2 separate regions of the Homo sapiens genome follow, and region 2 is linked to region 1. The links are contacts of gene promoters, found by promoter capture Hi-C in blood cells and fetal thymus (Javierre and others, 2016). All regions are on one chromosome and are shown on one strand. Each heading gives the region's core, a stretch centred on a gene start or on the middle of the fragment in contact. The rest is flanking DNA. Distances are from core to core; before and after follow the strand shown.

Region 1 (4,970 bases), core at 1,140-3,639:
GTTGCAACCCCTAGGGTTCATCAGTGCATTACTGCCCATCCATTAGTGGATATTAGTGTTCAGGAGAGAGGTCTGGGCCGGAATGAAGATGTGGGAGCCAGGAAGTGTGACTCCAAGAATGAGTCACACAGGAGAGTTTGTAAGAGGAGAGAAGAAAAAGGCTAAGAATAGAACACTGGAGAATATCAAAGGGGCAGGCAAGGTGAGTCAAAGTGGGACTGAAGGGTGGCCCAAAAAAGGAGAGAAAGAAAGAAAACCCCAGCACCTCAAAAGATGAGTGGCTCTAACAGTGTCAGAGCCCACCGAGATCAGATAAGATAAAGGCTGAAAAGTGGCGACTGTATCCGAGTACCTTGGCAAGGATGTATCTCGGTTCCAGGGATGGTGGTGCAAACATTACAGGGTGATAAGAACATAAAGCAAAACACGGATGTTGAGGCCAAAAAAAAAATGGAGTTGTTTTCAAAAAGCTTGGTTGCAGAAGGATTGGAAAGAAGCTAGATAGGGAGAGTATAAAGGGAACATTTTGCTTATTTTTAAGATGTCTGTATGTTGAAGGAAAAAAGCCAAGAAAGTCTCACAATGAACCACACAACAGGAGAGATGGTGAGAGCTCAGATGGACTGAGTTCCCATGGAGGTGAGAGGTAGACATCCAGAGAACAGGGAAGAGCCCCAGAAAGTTGACCCAGAAAGTGGATCTGAGCTATTCCTGTTCGAATTTCACAAGTACCCTGGGTCACACTGTGGAGATGAGAGTCAGAGAGATTATGTGACATGCCAAAATCATTCAGCCTCTAAGTGGTGGAGCACAACTTTGCTTCAATCCCATAGGCTAGGAAGAGCATGCTTTGTCTACCAGGACAGAGTCCCCTGCTACCATCAATTGTCCCTTCATCTGTCTGAGATCCTTGCCTACTGTGTATCCCCTCAAGGCAAGACCACAGTCTACTCATCTTTATCTGTCTGGGTCCAACACGGTGTCTGGCACAGACAGAGCACCTCAGGAAACAAATCTCAGTCCATTTTCACCAAGGTCCCAGGAACAGGGCAAGGGCAGGCTCCACTCCGTGGAGAGAAGACATCTCAAGGAAGTAACTGGCTTTGTGAGGAGCAGAAACTAAGGTTCCAAGTTATCCTCAGCTCCCCAGCTTGGGTCTGGAATAGATGGAGGAGGGAGCTGACCAGTTTTGACACATGTATTCCTCACACGAAACCTGTAGGATTAAAATGATCATTTCTCACCATCAAATGCAAAACAGCTGAAGTGGAACACAAGAGCTGGAGTCAATAATACTGTATTGAATTTGGGATTTTTGCTGGAAGAGCAGATTTTGGGTGCTCTTACACATACACACACACACACACACACACATACAGAGAGACACACACACAAAAGGCTAATTATGTAAAATCATGGATGTGTTCATTTGCTTGATTATAGTAACCATTTCACTAAATACATGTATATCAAAACTTCATGTTACACCTTAAATATTACCATAAAATAAAAGAAGAAAGAAAAACAATTGAAGTGGGGCAGGTAAATTGCCTCTCTGAAGGCCACACAGCTAGTAAACAACAAAATCGAGTCATAAACCCACATCTCCAGGACTTTCTGCCATTTCGAAGAAAACACAAGTCCGCAGGAAGGGATTCTGAGGCAGAGAGAAGCACCTTTGGATTCTCCACTTCTCTGGATTATCCACACCACTGGCCTCCCTCCCCTATATGAAGGGCAAACTGGGAACTGACTTCATATTCTGGTTAACTTACCAGGAGAATTTTCTGGGGTAGAGGATCATTAGCTGGGACTGAAGACACCCTGGTCAGGGCCTACTGAGGCTGGGAAGCTCTGGTTACCACATGGAGACCCCTAGAGAGGACATCAGCCTCTCTGGACCTTAGTCAGGTGGGATCCCCAAATGCTGTGAGGGCAGCCCCCTAGGGTGGGCTTAACCCACTCAAGGGAAGCCTCAGCCACCCCCACTCTCTCCTAAGGAGGCTGGATCTGACATCTTGGGCCCCCCTTCTGTTTCCAGGTGGAAGGAGAGCCTTCTGGGCACAGCCCTCCTGCCAGGGCCCTCTCCAGAAACCTCTCACAGTCTTCCCCAGGACCCCAGATGCAATCAGAGATGGGAGCCCAGGGACAAGCGAGATGGGAAGGGGAGAGGCAGGAAAAGGATGCCAGTCAGGACAGTGCCAACTCCAGAGCTGCTGTCCAGGACCTACCTGCAGGGAAGGCGGGCACCAGCCAGCCCCAGCCAGCCTTTGTTGACTTAACAGGTGGCTCTGAGGTGGGAGAAGAGGAGGAGGAGAACACACCACTGGAAGACTGGTTCCCATTGGTCCCTGTCATGCTTAAAAAAAGGCCCAGAGAGGCAGTCTTGACACCCTAGATCCCAAGATCTCCAAGGATTTGGTGGCATACCCACTCCAGCACACAGAAGCATGAGGTTCATGACTCTCCTCTTCCTGACAGCTCTGGCAGGAGCCCTGGTCTGTGCCTGTGAGTATGGCTCTTCCCCGACACCCAACCATATAGTCCCCTGAAGACTGGGCCCTGCCTTCATTTCCCCTTCCCCTCCTCGCCAGAGGCAGTTCACCCAAGTCTGTCTCTGTAGCCCACTCCTGCCTCCCACTAGGTTCTCCACACAGGGACTCTATGGTCAGAGGAAGCCAGGAGCCCTGTGGCCCCAGCCTGGCTCTCCATTGCCTCTCCTCTCAGTCTGTGATTGGCCCACTCTGCTCCAACCACTCTGGCATTCTTTTTCCCCTCAATGAACCAAGCCATTTCCCACTGCCAAGACTTTTGCACATCCTCTTGTCTTTTCCCCTGCCCATTATTTCACCCACCCACGTCAACCTCCTTCCTACTCAATTTCCAAGTGTCCGCCCTGCTAGCTCTCTGTGTCCATGTATTTCCTCACAGCAGGCTTGCTGAAGCCCCAGAATCATTTTGGCCCCTATTTTGCATTTTCTTGCCTCCTGTATTTTTCCTTCCTAGCACTATCACAAATGTAATTAAATAATTGTTTATGTAATTATGTTAATTCCTCCAAATCCCCCATTGACTGTCAGCTTCCCCGAGCAATTACACTGTCTGTCTTCCTCACAGCTGTATCTCTAGCCTCTAACACCATGTCTGGTGCATAATGCGTGCTTCATTCATGCTTTTGGAAGAATAAAGAAATGGAGGGAAGGTCCTTCTGAGGTCATTCTATCAGGTGACAATCAGAACAACTCCTGCCCTGTCACTAGAGCAGGTGCTGTGGTCATGCCCTCGTGGTCATGCCCCTTCAACTTTCATTATGAAACTTGGACATCTAAGACATAGAAGAGAGTCAGAGAATGATTCCATTTCCATAGGGATGTTCTGAGTAGCCTAGGTCTAGGGAGGATAACAGAGAGAGGGATTTGGTTGAGATACCAAAAAGCATTTCTAGTGGGCCCCTTGTGAAGCAGAGATTTCTCTCCTGTCTGTCCACTGCCACACTCCTGAGATTAGAGGCCTGGGAATTCTAGGCAGCCCTGGCTGGATACAGCTCATGCAACTGTGCCCTACTTGACATGGTCACTGTTCCCTCCTTTGCAGATGATCCAGAGGCCGCCTCTGCCCCAGGATCGGGGAACCGTGAGTCCTTTCTCTTCCTCCTGCCCCAGTCCTGGGTGGGAGGGTTAATGACTTGGGATATGAGTGGAGGAAGTCAGAGAAGCAGAAGGGGGGTCCGGGGAAGGAGAGTTGGGAGGCCGACTTTTAGGAGACATGGAGAAGGGAGACTTCCTGAGAGACTCATGCACTGGAGAAGGACAGAGCATGGGGGAAAGGGTGGCCCTGTCTGGAAGTAGAAGTGGAGTAAGAAAAATGGGAAAGAAAAGAATACTTTTCTTGAGCAAGAGGAGGAACTTCACATTAGATGGGTTCAGAGGTTTTCATCTGCCCCACCTTCACCAACAATTTCAATTCAAAAACCTTTCACGTGGTTTCCCATTTCTCATCACGAAACTCTCACCTCCTAGCCTGACATTCAGGGTATCCATGATCTAGATCCAGGGTACTTTTCAAATATAATTTCCCTAGACTCCACTGCTTGCATTCTCCACATCAAACGTTATACATTTGTTTCATCAGACAGCATGAGTAACTTTCTACTACCCAACGTTCCTCTTCCTGGGTACCTTTTCAACCCCTACCTGTCCGTGCTCTAACAAGCTTCAAGTCCCAGCTGCTCTCTGAAGCCCTCCCTGCCTGGTGTGTATGGTGCCTCTGTCCCAGTCTCTCCTTTCATCCCTCCCTCTTCTGGGCTTCCCATATATAGCAGTTTTGTCTCTTTTCCTAGACTGTAAGCCCCTGAGAGAGAGATCTAATTCTCATTCATTTCTACTTCCCCAGCCATGTACACACTCTGGATAATTAACGGCAGAAAGATAAACTGTATTTCTGCACATCTTCACTGCACTGCGAGCCCCAACCACAGCACACACCTGCACCCTCCCTGCCTTCTCACATAAAGCCCAGAGGGAACACCGGGCACCTTGGTGTCTTCTCAGATGCCCCTGGAGCGTTTCACACCAATGCAATAACAGAAGTTTTGATTTTCCAGATAAACAAATGGATTGTTTACAGCTACAGAAGCCCCCTTCAGAGACTGCCAAATTTCTGTCCTCATCCACCAACCTGCCTAGAAGAGAGAAGCTAGTGCCCTCTGCAAAACCTCCCCACACTAGGGGGCTGGTATAAGGGATGAAAACTAGGGGGAGTCTCTTTAAGGTGATCTTTCTGCCAAAATGACTTTACTTTTCCCTGAACCATAATCTACTCTAGAAAAGGGCCCTGGAGGAGCAGGAAAAGTCTTGGAGGCAGCAGGAAAAAGCTTGAGGGATGCTAAAGAACCTAACACATCATGAAAGTCAAGCTCTAGAGGAATTGGGAGAGAGGGAGCTATCCTCAAGCCAGACCTTGAGGGGGTA
Region 2 (4,970 bases), core at 1,229-3,728, 530 kb before region 1:
GAAATGGAGAAAGTCAAGAAAATAATAGATGAACAAAATTAAAATGTCAATAGAGGAATGGAAAACAAAAAGAGATCAAAAAGAAATTCTGGGGCTAAAAAGTAAAATTAAAATGAAAAATTCACTAGAGGGATTCAAAGGTATATTTGAGCAGGCAGAAGAAAGAATCAACAAATTTAAAGATAGAGCCATAAAAATTATTCAATCTGAGAAAGAGGAAAATAGACTGAAGGAAAGTGAAAAAATCCTAAACAGTTTGTGGGACACTAGTAAGCAGACAAACATATGCACTATGGGAGTTCCAGGAGGAGAAGACAGAAAGAGGCAGAGAGAATACACAAACAAATAATGGCCAAAAACCCCAACTTTGGTGAAGAACATGAACATAAACATGCAAGATGCTCAACAAACTCCGAGAAAAATGAACTCAGAGACTCAGCTGAGGAATGTTATAATCAAACCATTGAAAGACAAAGCCAAAGAAGAATTTTGAAATCAACAAGAGAAAAGGGGCTAGTCACTTAAAAGTTATACTTAATAAGATTATAAGACTTTTTATCAGAATCTTTGGAAGTCAGAAAATGGTGGGTTGATATATTAAAAGTGCTAAAAGATTTTTTTAAACTATTGTCAATCAAGAATCATATATCTGGTAAAATTATCTTTCAAAAATGAGAGCAAAATAAATATATTTCCAGACAATAAAAATCAACGAAGTTTGTAACCGCTAGACCTGCCCCTGCAAGAAATGCTAAAGTGCTGAAATAAAAGACACTTGAGAGTAATTCAGAGCCATATAAAAAGGTAAAAATCTCAGTAAAAGTAAATACATAGGAAATTATAAAAGCTAGTATTATTGTAACAATGATGTGTAACTCCACTTTTTGTTTTCTACATGATTCAAGAGAATAATATATTAGAAAAATGTTTAAGAGGTCGATGCATTAGAAAATCATTAGTTTATTTTTTGGAAACACGATGTATAAAAATGTAATTTTATGTCAGCAACTGAAAGGTGTGGAGATGGATCTGTTAAAGAAGCTGAGCTTTTGTATGTTATTGAATTTGTGTGTTATTGAAGCTGGTATAAATTTAAATCAGCTGGTATAAATATTAAAAGTTTAGAATATTAGAGGTAATTCCCATGGTAACCACAAAAATATAACTAAAGAATATACATGAAAAAGTTAAATGGGAAAGGGATGTAAATGTTTCAGTAGAAAAAAAAAAAAGGCTAAACACCAAAAAAAAGTACTGCAGGAAAAATAGGATTTTTAAAAACTATAAGGCATATAGAAATAATAAAGTAACAGAAATAAGCCCATTCTTACTTTAAATGTACATGATTAAACTCTCCAATCAAAAAAATAGATACTGACGGAATGGAAGAAAAAAACAAAAAAAGATTCAATTTTTCTGAAACAAAAGTGGTTTGCTGCTTGATGCACTAAAAGCCAATACTATGACACCAGGTTTTTGAGAAAAGAAAAGCTTTTTATTGCCAAGTTGACTCATAAGGAGACAGGAGTTGAGCTCAAGTCTTCCTCCCTGTGCTGGCTTTAAGGCAGTAATCTCATTAGAAAAGGTTTAGGGTGTTAATTCTGAAATTAGCAGGTGATTGATGAAAGGAAAGAGGAGGTCTGGAAAGTCCTTTGGTATGTGCAGTTATCTCTTCATACTACCTCATGCATTGCATATGCAAATTCAGGGGGAGTTAGTATAAAACATGCAGCGGAAATTAAGGCTGTGGTGACATCAGCAAGCTCATTATGTGCAAACTCTAGTTGGCCACTGATATGGTTTTGCTGTGTCCCTACCCAAATCTCATCTCGAATTGTAGCTCCCATAATTCCCATATGTTGCGGGAGGGACCCGGTGGGAGATAATTGAATTGTGGGGGTGGTTCTCCCATACTGTTCTTGTGGTAGTGAATAAGTCTCATGAGATCTGATGGTTTTATAATGGAGAAACCACTTTTGCTTGCTTGTGCCTTTCACCTTCCACCGTGACTGTGATGCCGCCCCAGCCATGTGGAACTGTGAGACTGAGAATGTGAGTCCATCAAACCTCTTTTTCTTTATAAATTACCCCATCTCAAGTACGTTTTTATGAGCAGCATGAAAATGGACTAATACAGCCGTCTTGGTTCCAACTGACTTCAGCAAATTTTTTCTTTATCTTACAGCGGAGAGAGTTTCAGCATTTCATCAAGTTGTTTATTTTCTTGTCTGCTATCCTGAAAACTCAATAATTTCTATTAATTACTAGTTTCTTACTTTCGGGGCACAGTTTTAGTAAGTTGTTTCTCTTCTTATCTGCCATGCAGTAAGCCCAAGAATTTATTAATTTTTTTAACCCCTTGAAGCATGGTTCACAACTATATACTTTCCTACAAGGAACTCACTTTAGATCTAAAGAGAGAAATAGATTAAAAGTGAAATGATAGAAAAGTAATTAAAAGAAGGCAGGAGTGGCTCCACTAACATCAGAAAAATAGACTTTAAATTTTTAAAAATAACAAGAAAAAAGGAGGACATATCAATAAAAGTTTTAATACCACAAGAAGATAAAACAATTATAAACATTCACACACTTAATCACAGACCATTAAAATATGTGAAGCAAAAATTGTCAAATGAGGGAGGAGTCCTGGGACATCTCACATATGTTCAGAATATGGAATTTAGTCGCATAGTTTTGGTATAAAACCACTCATCTTCTGTACATTATGTCTCCAAGTCTAGAAACCCTCCGCTTTACACTTTCTGGGAAGTAAACCTCAAATCTGCGGTATGGGAGAAGCATCCAGCATCAAGGAGTGGAGGAAGGATCCACACAGAAATAGCATATTTACAAGGATTGTTCTTGAAAATTATGAGGATCATAAATCACAAAATCAATGCAACCTGAATAAGCTATAAGTTTATTTCTCTTTCAAAAAATTGGAGTATTAAGGAAAAAGGGTGGAGATTATACAATGGCTCTATATTCATCAACCTGCCCCTTCTAGTGTGTTACTTCACACCCTTCAACAGGGGGATACTATCTTGTGATTAATTGCAAATATCACTCTGATATTTGCCAGCTCATCCTTACAAAGAGATAGAATTTACATATACTTCTCCATATTTTGAATCTAGTGTAGCCTTGAGAATTACATTGATTTCTTATAATGTGGTAACATTAATGTTTCCTCTTTTTATATTTGCAGATTTGATTTTCTGAAATTTTATTAAGAATTGTTGTAGCTATATTCATGAGAGATGGATATGTTTTCAAAGTAATGTTGGCCTCATGATGAGTTTAGATATGTTATTTCTAACATATCTCTGGGAGTGTTATATGGTATTTCTAATATAACTCTGGGAGAGTTAGAGTATAACTGGATTCTTCTAAAAATACACCACTGAATAGATTCAAAACATTAAATATTTAGTAATAAATCTGACTAATGTGTAAGCTTTGTACAGTTAAAAAAAAAGTCAGCAAAATAAAAAGACAAGCCACAGGCTGAAAGGAAATTTCTGCAAAGTCATATCTGATAAAGGACTGTTACCAAAATATACAAACAACTCTTAAAACTCAACAATATGAAAGCAAATAACTTAATATTAAAAATAGGCCACATAGCTTAACAGACACACAAAAAATAGCCAAATGTCAAATAAGCATATGAAAAGATGTTCTGCATCAAATGTCATCAGGGCAATGCAAACTAAAATAACACGATACTACCACACATCTATTAGAATGGCCAAAATCCAGAGCACTGGCAATGCAAAATACTGGTGAGGATATAGGGCAACAAGCATGTTCATTTAATTTTTATGGAAATGCAAAATGGCACGGCCACTTTGAAAGACAGGTTAGCCTTGTCTTACAAAACTAAATTCACTATTACAATATGACCCAGCCATCACACTGTGTAGTATTCACCCAAAAGAGTTGAAAACTTATATCCACGAAAAAACCTATGCCCTGATATCTGTAACACCTTTTTCATAATTACCAAAACAGAAGCAATCAAGATGCTCTTCAGTAGGTGAATGGATAAAGAAAGTGTAGCACATTTAGACAATAGAATATTATTCAACACTATACCCCAGATTGAGTTTTCTTTCCTAGGGCTTCGACTCAAAGCTTGGAATTGAGTTTGGGACAAAAGAACTGCTTCGGCGGGTTGTGTGGACACTTTACAAGCCAAATGCTAAGGTGAAGCTGTGGAACTGAGTCCTCCTCCAACAAGAGAGAGAAAAGGGTGTCTTGTGTACTGAGTCCTGGCCTAGTATAATGTCTTCTCAAAGGAAAAAAGGCCTCTGGCATAGAGAAGTCCCTTCTACTTGCAGGAGCGTGTTATTAGGTTGGTGCAAAAGCATTCATGGTCCCCATCATGCTAAGTAATGTCAAATAACACAACTACTTTTGCACCAACCCACCAACTCCTGACCTGGTGGAGAAAAGAAAAAATACAGCTTAAAGTGCAGGGATGTGTTAAGTGCTGATGGGGTGAAGAAAAGAAAATAAAACATCTTAAGTACAGAGTTGGAAAGATGCCTGGGGGAAGAATCTCCTATTCTTATGCAAATGTGTTCCTCCAACAGGGAGAGAAATTTTACTTGCTGTTGGACTGGAGAGAAACTTTTCGATGCTGCTGGGAATGCTGGCCAGCGTGCTGTGTGGAGCCCTTGGGCCAGGTGCCCCAGCCCCAGCTGGGTGGAGGTGGGCAGGGAGTCACCACTCACCTATCTGTCTTGCATGCATGCCTGTGACCATTGGGGTGGTGGTGGAACACCCCCAATATTGTAAAAGAAAAGATAGGTGCCATTACAATCCCCCCCAAAAGAAGGAAAATGCCATAGAAAAGACTGGGTTGGACTGAGGTTGACATTCGCAATCCCCAAGGCAACGGAAGTGGAGGGTCACAGTTTTCTCTACCTTCAGAAGATGTCTGAGGGCAAGAAAAAGCTGAG

Evidence for each region. Contacts are between HindIII fragments. The CHiCAGO score rates a contact against its expected background, and 5 or more counts as called.
Region 2: a contact is called between a fragment that was not itself captured here and the fragment with the promoter of DCD in region 1, in 1 of 17 cell types (activated CD4 T cells). The highest score is 5.9, in activated CD4 T cells.

Annotation. Positions count from the first base shown.
Region 1 is chr12:54,645,784-54,650,753 of GRCh38, reverse strand. It overlaps DCD (dermcidin), which reads left to right and starts at 2,389. Exons shown (of 5, transcript NM_053283.4): 1 at 2,389-2,508; 2 at 3,595-3,633. The coding sequence starts at 2,451. The HindIII fragment of the contact is 3,742 bases long and covers 473-4,214 here.
Region 2 is chr12:55,173,240-55,178,209 of GRCh38, reverse strand. No RefSeq gene overlaps it. Among named protein-coding and RNA genes, the nearest start is that of OR10A7, 45 kb to the left of the region's middle. RefSeq lists enhancers at 4,970, 4,850-4,970. The HindIII fragment of the contact is 1,969 bases long and covers 1,494-3,462 here.